Regions from separate parts of the Homo sapiens genome. Here regions 1 and 3 are each linked to region 2. Evidence: promoter capture Hi-C in 16 types of primary human blood cells and fetal thymus (Javierre and others, 2016). All regions are on one chromosome and are shown on one strand. Each heading gives the region's core, a stretch centred on a gene start or on the middle of the fragment in contact. The rest is flanking DNA. Distances are from core to core; before and after follow the strand shown.

Evidence for each region. Contacts are between HindIII fragments. The CHiCAGO score rates a contact against its expected background, and 5 or more counts as called.
Region 1: a fragment that was not itself captured here is called in contact with the fragment with the promoter of CDC45 in region 2 in 2 of 17 cell types (erythroblasts and total CD8 T cells); the score reaches 6.0 in erythroblasts.
Region 3: a contact is called between a fragment that was not itself captured here and the fragment with the promoter of CDC45 in region 2, in 1 of 17 cell types (total B cells). The highest score is 5.2, in total B cells.

Annotation. Positions count from the first base shown.
Region 1 is chr22:19,388,417-19,392,404 of GRCh38, forward strand. It overlaps HIRA (histone cell cycle regulator), which reads right to left. Exons shown (of 25, transcript NM_003325.4): 9 at 3,685-3,798; 10 at 68-138. Among named protein-coding and RNA genes, the nearest start is that of HIRA, 41 kb to the right of the region's middle. The HindIII fragment of the contact is 5,446 bases long and covers 1-3,973 here.
Region 2 is chr22:19,477,288-19,481,596 of GRCh38, forward strand. CDC45 (cell division cycle 45) reads left to right here and starts at 2,633. Exons shown (of 19, transcript NM_003504.5): 1 at 2,633-2,732; 2 at 2,871-2,930; 3 at 3,666-3,758. The coding sequence starts at 2,682. UFD1 (ubiquitin recognition factor in ER associated degradation 1) reads right to left here and starts at 1,906. Exons shown (of 12, transcript NM_005659.7): 1 at 1,796-1,906. The coding sequence starts at 1,798. RefSeq lists silencers at 1,673-1,742, 2,533-2,582 and an enhancer at 2,143-2,442. The HindIII fragment of the contact is 12,348 bases long and covers 1-4,309 here.
Region 3 is chr22:19,361,008-19,365,053 of GRCh38, forward strand. HIRA (histone cell cycle regulator) reads right to left here. Exons shown (of 25, transcript NM_003325.4): 16 at 720-924; 17 at 230-334. Among named protein-coding and RNA genes, the nearest start is that of HIRA, 69 kb to the right of the region's middle. The HindIII fragment of the contact is 4,046 bases long and covers 1-3,812 here.

The DNA of each region.
Region 1 (3,988 bases), core at 1-2,500, 90 kb before region 2:
AGGCCTCATGTTCCAATGTGTGGCTTCTCCTTTCTTAACCTATTCCTGTAAGTAGAATCCACCTTACCAGGAAATATCCATGATGGATTTGTCAAACAGTTCATGGATGACCACCAGCGGCCGTTTCAGACATGTGAGCTGGAAGGAAAGACACAGTCAAGGTTAATGAAATTACTGAAATCCCCTTCTGTATTCAGCTCAGTTAACATAACCAACCTAGAAGCCTGGGTCAAAGTGGCTGCTGATATTTAAGGCATCTTCAACTCTATTCAAACTGCAGCTGCAGAGATCCCAAACTGTGGGAACCAAAGCCTGCCAAAAATGTGCATGCTACCTAGAGTGGACCCTGCCTCCAGGGCTTGCTGTGGTCTGACAGGGGAAATAGCTTTATACACAGATAACTAGCAACAGAGAAGGCAGAGTGGGAGTGGGTTTCTGAAGGGCTATGGTCGGAGGAGAGGGACAGCCCCAGGGTGGACCTCTGAGAGGGTCTATGGAGCAGGAGACACGATGCCAAAGCCTAGACAGGGGATGAGGCACCCTGAGAGAGAACACAACACATCTTCCCTGGGCCCAAGGGACTCTGGTACACATTTATCCAAGGCTCATTCTACACTATGTGTAGGTAGTACAGAAATACACACCTGGGCCCTTAATCTGGGCCTAGTTACCGACTATTAATACTTTGATGAATTATTATCTTCTATTTTGTGCAAATATTTATTTTATTCTTCAAAGTAAGAATTTATTTTATTCTTCATAGTTGTGTCTGTTTTTTCATTTAACACACAATAAGTATGTCATTAAATATCCTGTAAAAGTCTCTTCTGGATGACTGCATAGCATGCACTGTGCATATTCTCTATCGAGTCACTCAATTGCTGGCATACACTCTGACTCCACGTTCCCACAACTATGGTAGGCCTTTCCACTTGTGCACAAGTGCCTGGCTACCCTGCTGGCTGGCCCTGAACTGCAGGACAATGGGCAGGGAAGAAACACACTTCCTCACGGGATGGTGGGCTCCCATAGGTGCTGCTGCAGCTTCTGGGAGGCTGTGGGGCTGAGCGTCCCAGTGCAGCCTGAGACTGCTATGTGGGGAAGGAGAAGCTGTGTCTACCCTAGTGGTGGAGAGGGGGCTGAAGTCTGAACGATCTGGAACCCACATTAAGAATCTCGCCTCCACCTTAATTCCACTTCTAGAAAAAGCTGCCTTGTCCCTCCTCTCATAAATGTGCCTACAGACCCCTCAGAAATCTACAGGCCGTGTGACTGCCTAACCTGAGCATTCTAAGAAATATGGGCATCACAGTCAGTGATGTTTTGGTTGCAGCGCCACAAACAGGGCCTCTGGCTGGGAGGAAACAGGGAAGGTCCCCTGAACGGCAATCTGTGGTACTGTGGTTCAGGTTCCAGAATGGGTGTTAAGTGAATACTTGGCCTAAAAAAAAAAAAAAAAATCACAACGCACACAGTAATATATTTCTCTATACCAAACTAATAAATGCAGCCAGAGGATAACCTTCAAACCCAGAACTTCCAACTTGCTCTGCTTATAGGGACACTTTTTTACAAAATGAAAAAAAAAAAAAATTAATGTGTGTGCACTTTGCTTTATCAAACTTTAAATATATTGGCACCTTGATGCTCAGCACCAAGACTGCTCCCTGCACTGCATGCGGAGGTGTCTCTTACCACACAGTCAGGTCACAGCACACCAGCCCCTGGCAGTGAGAAACTTAACCCTTCAGGAGCCCTCACTTAGAAACCGCCACAGTTCTTACCCTTGGGTTCTCACTCGCCAACTACCATTGAGTATATCTGCTGAGAACCTGCTCTGTAGAGGGCACTGAGTTAGGAAGGTGAGGGGAACAATGAAACTGAAGACACATCGGGCTGGGTGTGGTGGCTCACACCTGTAATCCCAGTACTTTGGGAGGCCAAGGCGGGCGGATCACCTGAGGTCAGGAGTTTGTGACCAGCCTGGACAACATGGTGAAACCCCATCTTTACTAAAATTACAAAAAAATTAACCGGGTGTGGTGGCCTGTAATCCCAGCTATTCAGGAGGCTGAGGCAGGAGAATCTCGCTCGAACCCAGGAGGCAGAGGTTGCAGTGACTCAAGAAGCCAAGATTGCACCACTGCACTCCAGCCTGCTGGGCAATAGAGGGAGACTCTGTCTCAAAAAAAAAAAAAAAAAAAAAAAAAAGAAGCTGAAGACATCGCCTCATCTCAGGGGATCCAGCGAGTGAGGAGTACTAGGCTCACAACCTTACCCATCACAGCATCACCCAGGGGTGAAATGGACTAATAGAGGCGTCAGCTTTCTGTGTGTCTTTTTCTGTGGACATAAGCACTTATCTGTCTTGGTTGTATGCCTAGGAGTGGAAGTGCTCTAGGTCATATGCTTAGCTGTGGTAGAAACTGCCAGACAGTTTTCCCAAGTGCTCATGCCAGCGTAAACACCTGTCAGCAACACGTGTCAGCAATGTATCAGTTCCAGCTTATCATGTCCTTGCTGACACTTGGTACTATTTTTTTGTTTTTTTTTTTAATTTTAGAACTCTACTCATAGGTATGTACTCATAAATGAAAACGTACATCCACATAAAGACTTATACAAGAATGTTCATATCAGCTTTAGTCATAATATCTCAAAACTGGAACAATCTTAATGTCCATCAACAGGAGACTGTATAAACAAATTGTGGTGTATTCATACAGTGGAATGCTACACCGAAATTATAAGGAATAAAATACTGTTAAGTGCAGCAACATACACGAATCTCAAAAACACTGTGCCAAGCAAAAGAAATGAAGACACAAAGAAGCAAGTACCACACAATTGCATTTATATGAAGTTCAAGAGCAGGCAAAACTCATCAGTGTAACAGAGGCCATTAGAGTGGTTGCTTTGGTGGTGAGGGAGGTCTTGACTGGGGAGGGACAAAGGGACAAAAAGGAGTGCTCTAGGCAGTGATGACACTGGTGTGTAAACATGTATGACAACTCACCAAACTGTACCTTTCAGGTGAATACACTTTATATAAAGATTTTTCTTTTTCTTTTTTTTTTTTTTTTGAGACGGAGTCTCGCTCTGTTGCCCAGGCTGGAGTGCAGTGGCGCGGTCTCAGCTCACTGCAAGCTCTGCCTCCCAGGTTCACGCCATTCTCCGTCTCAGCCTCCCGAGTAGCTGGGACTACAGGCGCCCACCACCACGCCCAGCTAATTTTTTGTATTTTTAGTAGAGACGGGGTTTCACTGTGTTAGCCAGGATGGTCTCGAACTCCTGACCTTGTGATCCGCCCACCTCGGCCTCCTAAAGTGCTGGGATTACAGGCGTGAGCCACCGCGCCCAGCCATATAAAGATTTTTCTAATAGGAAGCAAGCCCAACATGCTGCTCATGGCATTGACCACTGAGGGTGCTGCCTGAGTCTGGACACAAGAGCTGGTCTAGGTGGGGGTCAAGGTGGCCTCTCCTGGCTGGGCACAGACCCAGTCTTCAGCACTTCCTTCTGGGAGAGCAGGAGAGCCTGTGAGCTTCCAAGGAGGGGCTGACCCCAGGTGCAGAATAGAAATACACTCTTAGCATCACCCAAAGCAGGTCTCTTTCCTCCACTTGCTACTTTACCAACCTACACCTCCCGTCCTGCAACAAAAGCTCAGGATAGCAGGCTCACCCAGACAGAAAGCGAGCGGTCCTTGCTGCCAACAGCACAGCAGCAGTACGGGCAGCTAGGCTTCGCAGAACTCCCATTCTTCTGCTTCTTTTTGAAGATTTTTGGGTTGAATTTCTAAAGCCAAATAACAGATGTTAAAAATAATTAATCAAGCATCAGGCATGTCCCCTGTGCCCAAGTCCCAGCCCACTGAAGGGAGTCTCCCACAGACATTCTCTGAGCCCAGGCACTGAGCATGCATTTCATCTTCCCGACCACCTATGAGGCATCTGGCTGATGATGGAAAGGAAGCTTAGGGAGGTCA
Region 2 (4,309 bases), core at 1,383-3,882:
CTCAAGTGTCCAATGACAGATGAATGAATAAACAAATTGTGGTATGGTATATACATACAATGAAATATTATTCAGCTTTTAAAAGGAAAGAAATCCTGTCACATGGATGAACCTTGAGGATATCATGCCAAGTGAAGTAAGTCAGTCATAAAAGGACTTATATTTTATGAGTCCGCTTCTAGGAAGTACCTAGAGTAGGCAAATTCATGGAGACAAAGTGGAACAGAGATTGACAGGGGCTGTGAGGAGCAGAAAATGGAGAGCTATTGTTTAATGTGAGTAGAGTTTCACTTTTGCAAGATGAAAAAGTTCTGAAAATCTGTTGCTCGTGAATGTACTCAACACTATTGAACTATAGACTGAAAAACGGTTAAGATGATAAAAATTTGGTTTTTTTAACCACAACTAAAAAAAAATCTGTATTAGAGAAAATTTCTTGACTTGATTCCAAATATATATTTAGTAGAAGGAATGCCACCTACTGACAAAGCAGTTTACTAGCAACTCCAAAATTAGCAAGCTGAATTAGCCATCTCCCAAAATGCAAACATAGCATGTTCCCGCCTAAAATCTGGGATGGTTCTTTACTCCCTGGCACTCTAACACAGTAATTTCCAATCTTTTGTCTTTCTTCTTTTAAGCAGCATAACTGTTCAGCTAAATCTTGGCCAGAACCATAACACAGGAAATAGCGTTTCTGGGTGAACAAGGCCAGAACAGGGTAGGGGCTTGCTTCCCTTGAGTGCTTCTCACTAGCCAACCTATGTAAGCCATTTCTTCTCTTTGAATATAAAAGGTAAATCCGCACAAAGGGGCAACATACTTAACAACCTGCCTGCAGTTTACCCATGAACCCGACCTTCTGCCCCTTCTTTGCTGCTCCCGATCCCATCTCTCACTTTCCTTTTCAATCCCGAGACCTAGCACACTGCCTGGAACATATCAGGTATTCTTGAGTGGATGAACTCAAGAATAGAAATAAGCCAGGGTTTGACAGTGACACACTTGGGATAAAATCTAACAATCATTCCTTGTCTTTACTAAAATAAACAGGTGACAGGAAGACAATACCGTAGAGTGCTTTGCAGCCAGACAGACTTGGCTTCAACTCTCCAGTCCCTACTTCTGTGACTCGAATAAAGTACCTCTGTAAACGTTAGTTTTCTCATGTTTAAAATCATCATCATCCTTGCTTCCAAAGGGATTGTAGGGATTAAAAGAAATAAGCCGCGATGAGGGAGTACAGGTGTTAAAAGCTGTGTAACAGGAAATGTACCAGCAGGTATTAGCTTCCATCGTTATCATTACCGAACACAACACCGCTGTACAGATTCGAAGGCACGAACCCGTAGGCACGGAGCTCACGGAGCTGGGGCAAGAGCTGGGTGTCCCCCAAGAGCGGGGGATGCCCACTACGGATTCTCCCTGGGGAGCGCCCTGATTCTGTTCCCATCCCCAGCAACCTTGCAACTAACTTTGGGTTTATGGAAACCTGTTGCGCGTCCAGCACTTGGGAAACCCGTGAATGGACACAAACCTTCCTTTCTTTCGTCAAGGAGGGCAAGTCCGGCTGAGACAGAATGCGAGCCACGTTCAGGACCGGCGGACGCGACCACAGGCGGTTAGTGGTCAAGGGTCCTGCTTGTGCCCGGTGCGGCCGATGAGCCTGCAGGCCGGACTCAGGCCCGGGTGACTCGGCACCTCCGCCGCCGTCCCGCCCCGCCCTGCCCCGCCGGGCCCTACCTCAGGCCCCGGGCCAAGGCCCAGCCCCCGCCCGCTGCCCGTCAGCGCTTACCATGATGGACACCACCTGGCAGACTCCGCTCCTCTCAGGCAATGCAACGAAGAAACCCCGCCGACCGCTCTCCCAGCCGCCGCTGCCGCTGCCGCCGCGCCAAGCCGGTACGCCCCAGAGGCTCACCGGAAGTGCCGGACCCGAGACCCGGAGGGGGGGTGCCCGGGACAAAGCGTCGGCTGCAAAAGAGAAAAGGCCAGGCGAAGACGCTAGGCTCTAAAACACCCTCAGTAGAAGCATTAAAATGCCCTTTCGTGATTTATTTCCCCTTTTATAGGTATTTTTAAACGTTATTTTAAATTACGTGTTGACAGTATTCCCCTCCAGACGAATTTAGTAGGGCCCATTGTCCTTACGACTACACTACCCACAATGCACTACCCAGACTGCCTCTGCTTCAGCCATCGAGGACTCGGGCGGAACTAAGCTACAAATCCTTCTTCAAACCACACCAAAAACCTATTGCAAACGTAAATGCTGCCCCATTGGGTATGTGACTGAGTTTAATGTATGGTTAGAAGTATACTTTCCCTGAGGGTTCCCAGTGGGAGGCAGTAGGCTTCTCTTCCCAAAGTAAAGATGTCCGCCCAGCGTCGCTTTTCTGGGTAAAAGCGAGTCAGAGTTGAAGGGGGCAACAGTGTTTGCGTTCGGCCTCAGAGGTGACGCTTCTTTGGGGGCGGGCTGGAGTTTTCTGGCCGTGAATGGCAGAGCGCTAATGGCCGCCTCCAATGTGGCCCAATCAGAAAGAAAGGAAGGCTGGGAACTAAGAAGCTATTGGTTGGTGATCCCTGGACCAATCGGAGGAGCCGTGATTTGGCGGGAGTCTTGACCGCCGCCGGGCTCTTGGTACCTCAGCGCGAGCGCCAGGCGTCCGGCCGCCGTGGCTATGTTCGTGTCCGATTTCCGCAAAGAGTTCTACGAGGTGGTCCAGAGCCAGGTGACGCCCAGTCCGGGACCCCCGCCGAGGCCTTGCCGGTGGGGAAGGGATGAGGGGGAGCGACCGTGGGTGACCGGGAGGCAGGGGAGGGCCGGGGTTCGGGTCGCCGTGTTCAGCCGGTCTGCTCTTCCCCGATAGAGGGTCCTTCTCTTCGTGGCCTCGGACGTGGATGCTCTGTGTGCGTGCAAGATCCTTCAGGTGAGTTCTGCGGACCCTAGGAGGGCGGGGCCGGCGCGCGAGGTGAGGGTGCTGCGTGGGGGCGCAGGGCGGGCAGAGTGTCAGGATGGGTGCTGAGGGCTTAGGGTGGGAGAGGGAGCAGGGCAGGAGGTGAACAGCAAGTGAGAGGAGAGAGACTCGGAGGAGAGGTTGCCTCCCTGTCCCAACGGTGTGGGGTGGGATAAAGGATTAAGTAAAAGGTAAAGAGACTAGTTTGTATTTTTGCAATAAGCTATTAATATTAATAGGTGAACACAGCAGTTGCATTTGGGGGAAACTTTGGATCTGTCGTGGCCTCTCAAATGGGGGATTTGAGAGAGAGGAATCTGTGACAACTGTGGGTATAGTCGTGTCACAGGTGTTGCTGGGAATATGGGAGCCCCTAGTCTATTAGGGAAGATCGTTAGTTTGGTTTTGAATAGGGCATAGTATTTACGTTGTTTTGGTCAGGCCCTTGGATCAGGAACTTTTCAGAAGGCCTGGAAGTTAAATCGGCATTTCTCCCCGATGTTTTACTTTGGTAATTTGCAAAATTCACAGAATGGTATGGTAAACGCTCATATCCCTAGCACCTAGCTTTTCCCGTAAGCATTTCACTAGCTTTAATGTTATCCCGTGTCTTTTGTCTCTCAACCCGTCTAATCTTCCTCAGTTTCTTTTCAAGGTAAATTGCTAATGTCCTAAATAAGATAGGCTTTGAAAACACTCTCTCTCCAGGCCTTGTTCCAGTGTGACCACGTGCAATATACGCTGGTTCCAGTTTCTGGGTGGCAAGAACTTGAAACTGCATTTCTTGAGCATAAAGAACAGGTATTGAAGATGCGTTTTAGAATAACGTGGCTTTTTACTCAATTGTAATTTCTTGACACAGCATTCTATTTCCACGATAGATTAAGCGTGTATTTAAGTATCAGCTACATTAGGCAATATGGAAGAGAAAAACATGCTGTATTTACTGGTGACTTACCACGCCCAAGTTGTAGAAGCAAAATTGACAGCAAAAAAAGATAATGAATGTGGATAGCCCCAACTTTGAACTTGTTTTAACTTGTTTTGCAGAAATTTGATTGTAAGGTGCTTGGAATCTAGCAGTTTTTAATATGGTCTAGTTAAAATTATTTTATTTTATTTTGGTTTATTTTTTTATTTTTTATTTTTTTTGAAACGGAGTCTCGCTGTGTCGCCCAGGCTGGAGTGCAGTGGCACGATCTCGGCTCACTGCAAGCTGTGTCTCCTGGGTTCATGCCATTCTTCTGCCTCAGCCTCCTGAGTAGCTGGGACTACAGGCACCCGCCACCACACCTGGCTAATGTTTTTGTATTTTTAGTAGAGACGGAGTTTCACCATGTTAGTCAGGATGG
Region 3 (4,046 bases), core at 540-3,039, 120 kb before region 2:
AATCCCAAGGGCAAAGCCAGACAGAGGCTATGGGTGAGTGAGAGTGGAGGCTGGCAATTTCGCTAAGAGTTGGTGGGTACCCCGATCTGCTATGACTTCTCCCAGAAGGTGATGGAGAGCCACTGGAAACCAATCTCCAAGGAAGTGACAAGATAGGATTTGTATGCAGTAGGGGACAGAGAATGTCTGGGTGTGCCTGAGGGAGAACTGGCAGGGTCCTAGAACTTACCTGGAGGGTGAATGCTCTCTGGGGGCTTGGAATTGGCAGCTTCAGTGCAAGTGCTGGTGCAGACAGACACATGGCCTCCTTCTCTGCGGTTAGGGCAGCTGGAGACTGGAAGAGCCAGAAACGTTCCTGAGCCTTGCTCTAACACTACGGGGTAGCATTTGGTAAAGGCAGGTCACCCAGAAGTGAGGCTGAGCCTGCGACCAGAGCATTTCCACCCTGGGAGGGAGGAAGCAGAGGGGAATGCTACAAGGATCCTAACCTCATGGACAAGCCAGTTGATGCCAGGGAACCTGCTCAAGGGCCCTGGGTGAGTCAAGGGCACATCTGAGGGAGAGCGTGGCCTCCATGCTACATTCCAGGGGCTGCATGTCTAAGCCAGCTGGTTCCCAAGGTGACCCACCCAGCTGAGGCTTACCATGCACACAGGGCCTTCAAGCTCTAAGTACAGAAAGGTGGGCTAAAGAAGGCAGGATGGGCCCACTGGCCTCACCTGGACAGACAGAGACACAGGCATGAGACGAGAGTCCTTCCGAGGCCGCCCTTTCTTCTTCTTCTCTACTGTCTCTACCTCAAGCTCAAGTTTTCGCTTGGACAGTGAGGAAGCCTTAGCCAAAGGGACTTTCTCATCGCTGTCACTGCTGCTCTCCAGGAGGTCTCGGGGCCTCAGCTCTTTCACAAGGTTCTGCTCTTTTAACCTGCACAAAAACATTACATCACACTTCCCTTCAGAAACCATTCATGCAAGAAAGAGTGAAGTGAAATATTTAAAGTGCTTAAACAAACCTCTTGCCAACCTAGAATTCTGTGTCCAGTGAAATTATGCCTCAAAAGTAAAGGAGAAATAATGACTTTGTCAGACAAAAATAAACAAAGAGACACCGGAATCTGTTGCCAGAAGACCTGCCTTGCAAGAAATGTTAAAAGTCTTTCAGAGAGAAGATAAATGATGCAGGCCAGAAACTCACATCTGCATGAAGAAAGGAAGAGTGATGTTAGAGAAAAAAAACAATGAACATAAAATAGAATCTTTTGTATTTCATATTCCCAACTGATCTGAGAGACAACTTTCTGTTCAAACAAATAACAGCCACCATGTCTTGAATTACTATAGTTTATGAATGAGTGAAATAAGTGGTACCAATGTCATAGGGCATGGAAGGAAAGAGTGGGGAACTCTTTCTACTACCCATGAAGTGGTATAATATTATTTGAAAGTAGAGTTAGGTTATAAATGTTTATTGTAAACTCTAGAGCAATCACTAAAAAAAATTTTTTAAAGCATAATTAATAATGCTGAGAGGAGAGAAAATTTATTTTTATTTTATTATCATTTTTTTTTTGGAGATGGATTTTCACTCTTCTCGCCCAGCCTGGAATGCAATGGTGTGATCTTGGCTCACTGCAACATCCACCTACTGGGGTCAAGTGATTCTCCTGCCTCAGTCTCCCAAGTAGCTGGGATTACAGGTGTGTGCCACCACGCCTGGTTAATTTTTGTATTATTAGTAGAGACAGGGTTTCATCATGTTGGCCAGGCCAGTCTTGAACTCCTGACCTCAGGTGACCTACCCGCCTCAGCCTCCCAAAGTGTTGGGATTATGGTCGTGAGCCACCATGCCTGGCTGAGAAAACTGAATCATATAAAATACTCAGCTAAAACCAGAGAAGGCAGAAAAAGAAGATAAAAAGAAGTGAAGATTAAAAAAAAAGAATAAGGCCGGGCACGGTGGCTCACGCCTGTAATCCCAGCACTTTGGGAGGCTGAGGTGGGTGAATCACCTGAGGTCAGGAGATTGAGACCGTCCTGGCCAACACGGTGAAACCCTGTCTCTACTAAAATACAAAAAATTAGCCGGGTGTGGTGGCGTGTGCCTGTAGTCCCAGCTACTCGGCAGGCTGAGGCAGGGCAATTGCTTGAACCCAGGAGGCAGAGGTTGCAGGGAGTCAAGATCGTGCCACTGCACTCCAGCCTGGTGACAAAGTGAGATTCCGTCTCAAAAAAAAAAACAAAAAAAACAAAAAAAAGAAATGGGTTTATGTTTTTAAAAATTTAATTTTAACTACAAAAGACAAAGACAGATTAATAGTAGGTGGACACAGTGGCTCATGCCTGTAGTCCCAGCTACTTGGTAGGCTGAGGCAGGAGGACTGCTCGAGCCCAGAGGCTTGAGAGCAGCCTGGGCAAAATAATGAGACCCCATCTCTAAGAACAAAAAATAAGTAAATAAATAAATACAAGAAAAGGGGTGATTCTAACTATATGACAACCTGGAACAGGCAAAACCATGGAGACAATAAAAAGATCAGTGGTTTCCAGGGGTTGGGGAAAGGAAGGTAACTATATGAAGCACAGAATTTTTAAGGCATTGAAACTATTCTGGCTGGGTGTGGTGGCTCTTTCCTGTAATTCCTACACTTTGGGAGGCCAAGGTGGGCAGATCACTTGAGGTCAGGAGTTTGAGACTGGCCTGGCCAACATGGTGAGACCCCATCTCTACTAAAAATACAAAAATTAGCCACGTGTGGTGGCATACACATGTAATCCCAGCTACCTGGGAGGCTGAGGTAGGAGAATTGCTTGAACCTGGGAGGCGGAGGTTGCAGTGAGCCGAGATGCGACTGTGCCACCGCACTCCAGCCTGGGCAATAGAGCGAGACTCTGTCTCGAAAAAACCCAAAAAACTATTCTGTAAGATATATAATGATGAATATATGTCATTATACATTGGTTAAACCCGTAAAACGTACAACATCAAGAGTAGACCCAAATGTAAACTTTGGGTGACGGTGTGCCCCACTCTGGTGGGGGATGCTGAAAGTGGGGGATGCTATGGGTATGTTGGGGAGGCGGGCATGTGGGAACTCTTTGTATTTCCTGTTCAATTTAGCTGTGAACCTAAACTGCTCTAACAAATAAAGTCTATTAAAAAAAAAAAGCGAGGACTGGAGAAAGACATGCCATGATAACACTAATCAAAAAAAGGTGGTGTAGTTACGTAAGCAAAGCAGGCATCAGAGACAGTAAAGTTATCAAGGATAAAGAGGGACATTACACAGTGATAAAGATGAAGGAGTCAATTCTTCAAGAAGACAGAACAATTCTGAATAAGTACACAGGCATACCTTGTGTTATTGTGCTTTACTTCACTGTGCTTCGCAGAGACTATGTTTTTTTTACAAGTTGAAGGTTTGTGGCAACCCTGCATCAAGCAAGTCTATTGGCGCCATTTCCCCAACAGCAGGTGCTCATTTCGTGTCTCTGTGTCACATTTTGATAATTCTCACAATATTTCAAACATTTTCATTCTTATTGTATCTGTTTTGGTGATCTGCCATTAGTGATCTTTCATGTTAGTATTATAACTGTTTTGGGGCACTGTGAACCACACCCATGTAAGATGCTGAACTTAATCAATAAATGGCGTTTATGTTCTGACTGCTCCACCAACTGGTTGTTCTCCTGTCTCCCTTCCTCTCCCCAGGCCTCCCTATTATCTGAGACAAAACAATATTGAAATTAGGCCAATCGATAACCCTATAATGGCCTCTAAGTAAGTGTTAAACCAAAAGCTAAAAATGATTAAGCTTAAAGAGGAAGGCACATTGAAAGCTGAGACAGGCCAAAAGCTATACCTTTTGCACCAGTTAGCCAAGGTGTGAATGCAATGGAAAAGCTCTTAAAGGAAGTTAAAAGTGCTACTCCAGTGAACACATGTTTGAAAAGAAAGCAAAACAGCCTTATTGCTAATATGGAGAAAGTTTTAGTGCTCTGGATAGAAGATCAAACCAGCCACAACACTCCCTTAATCCACAGCCT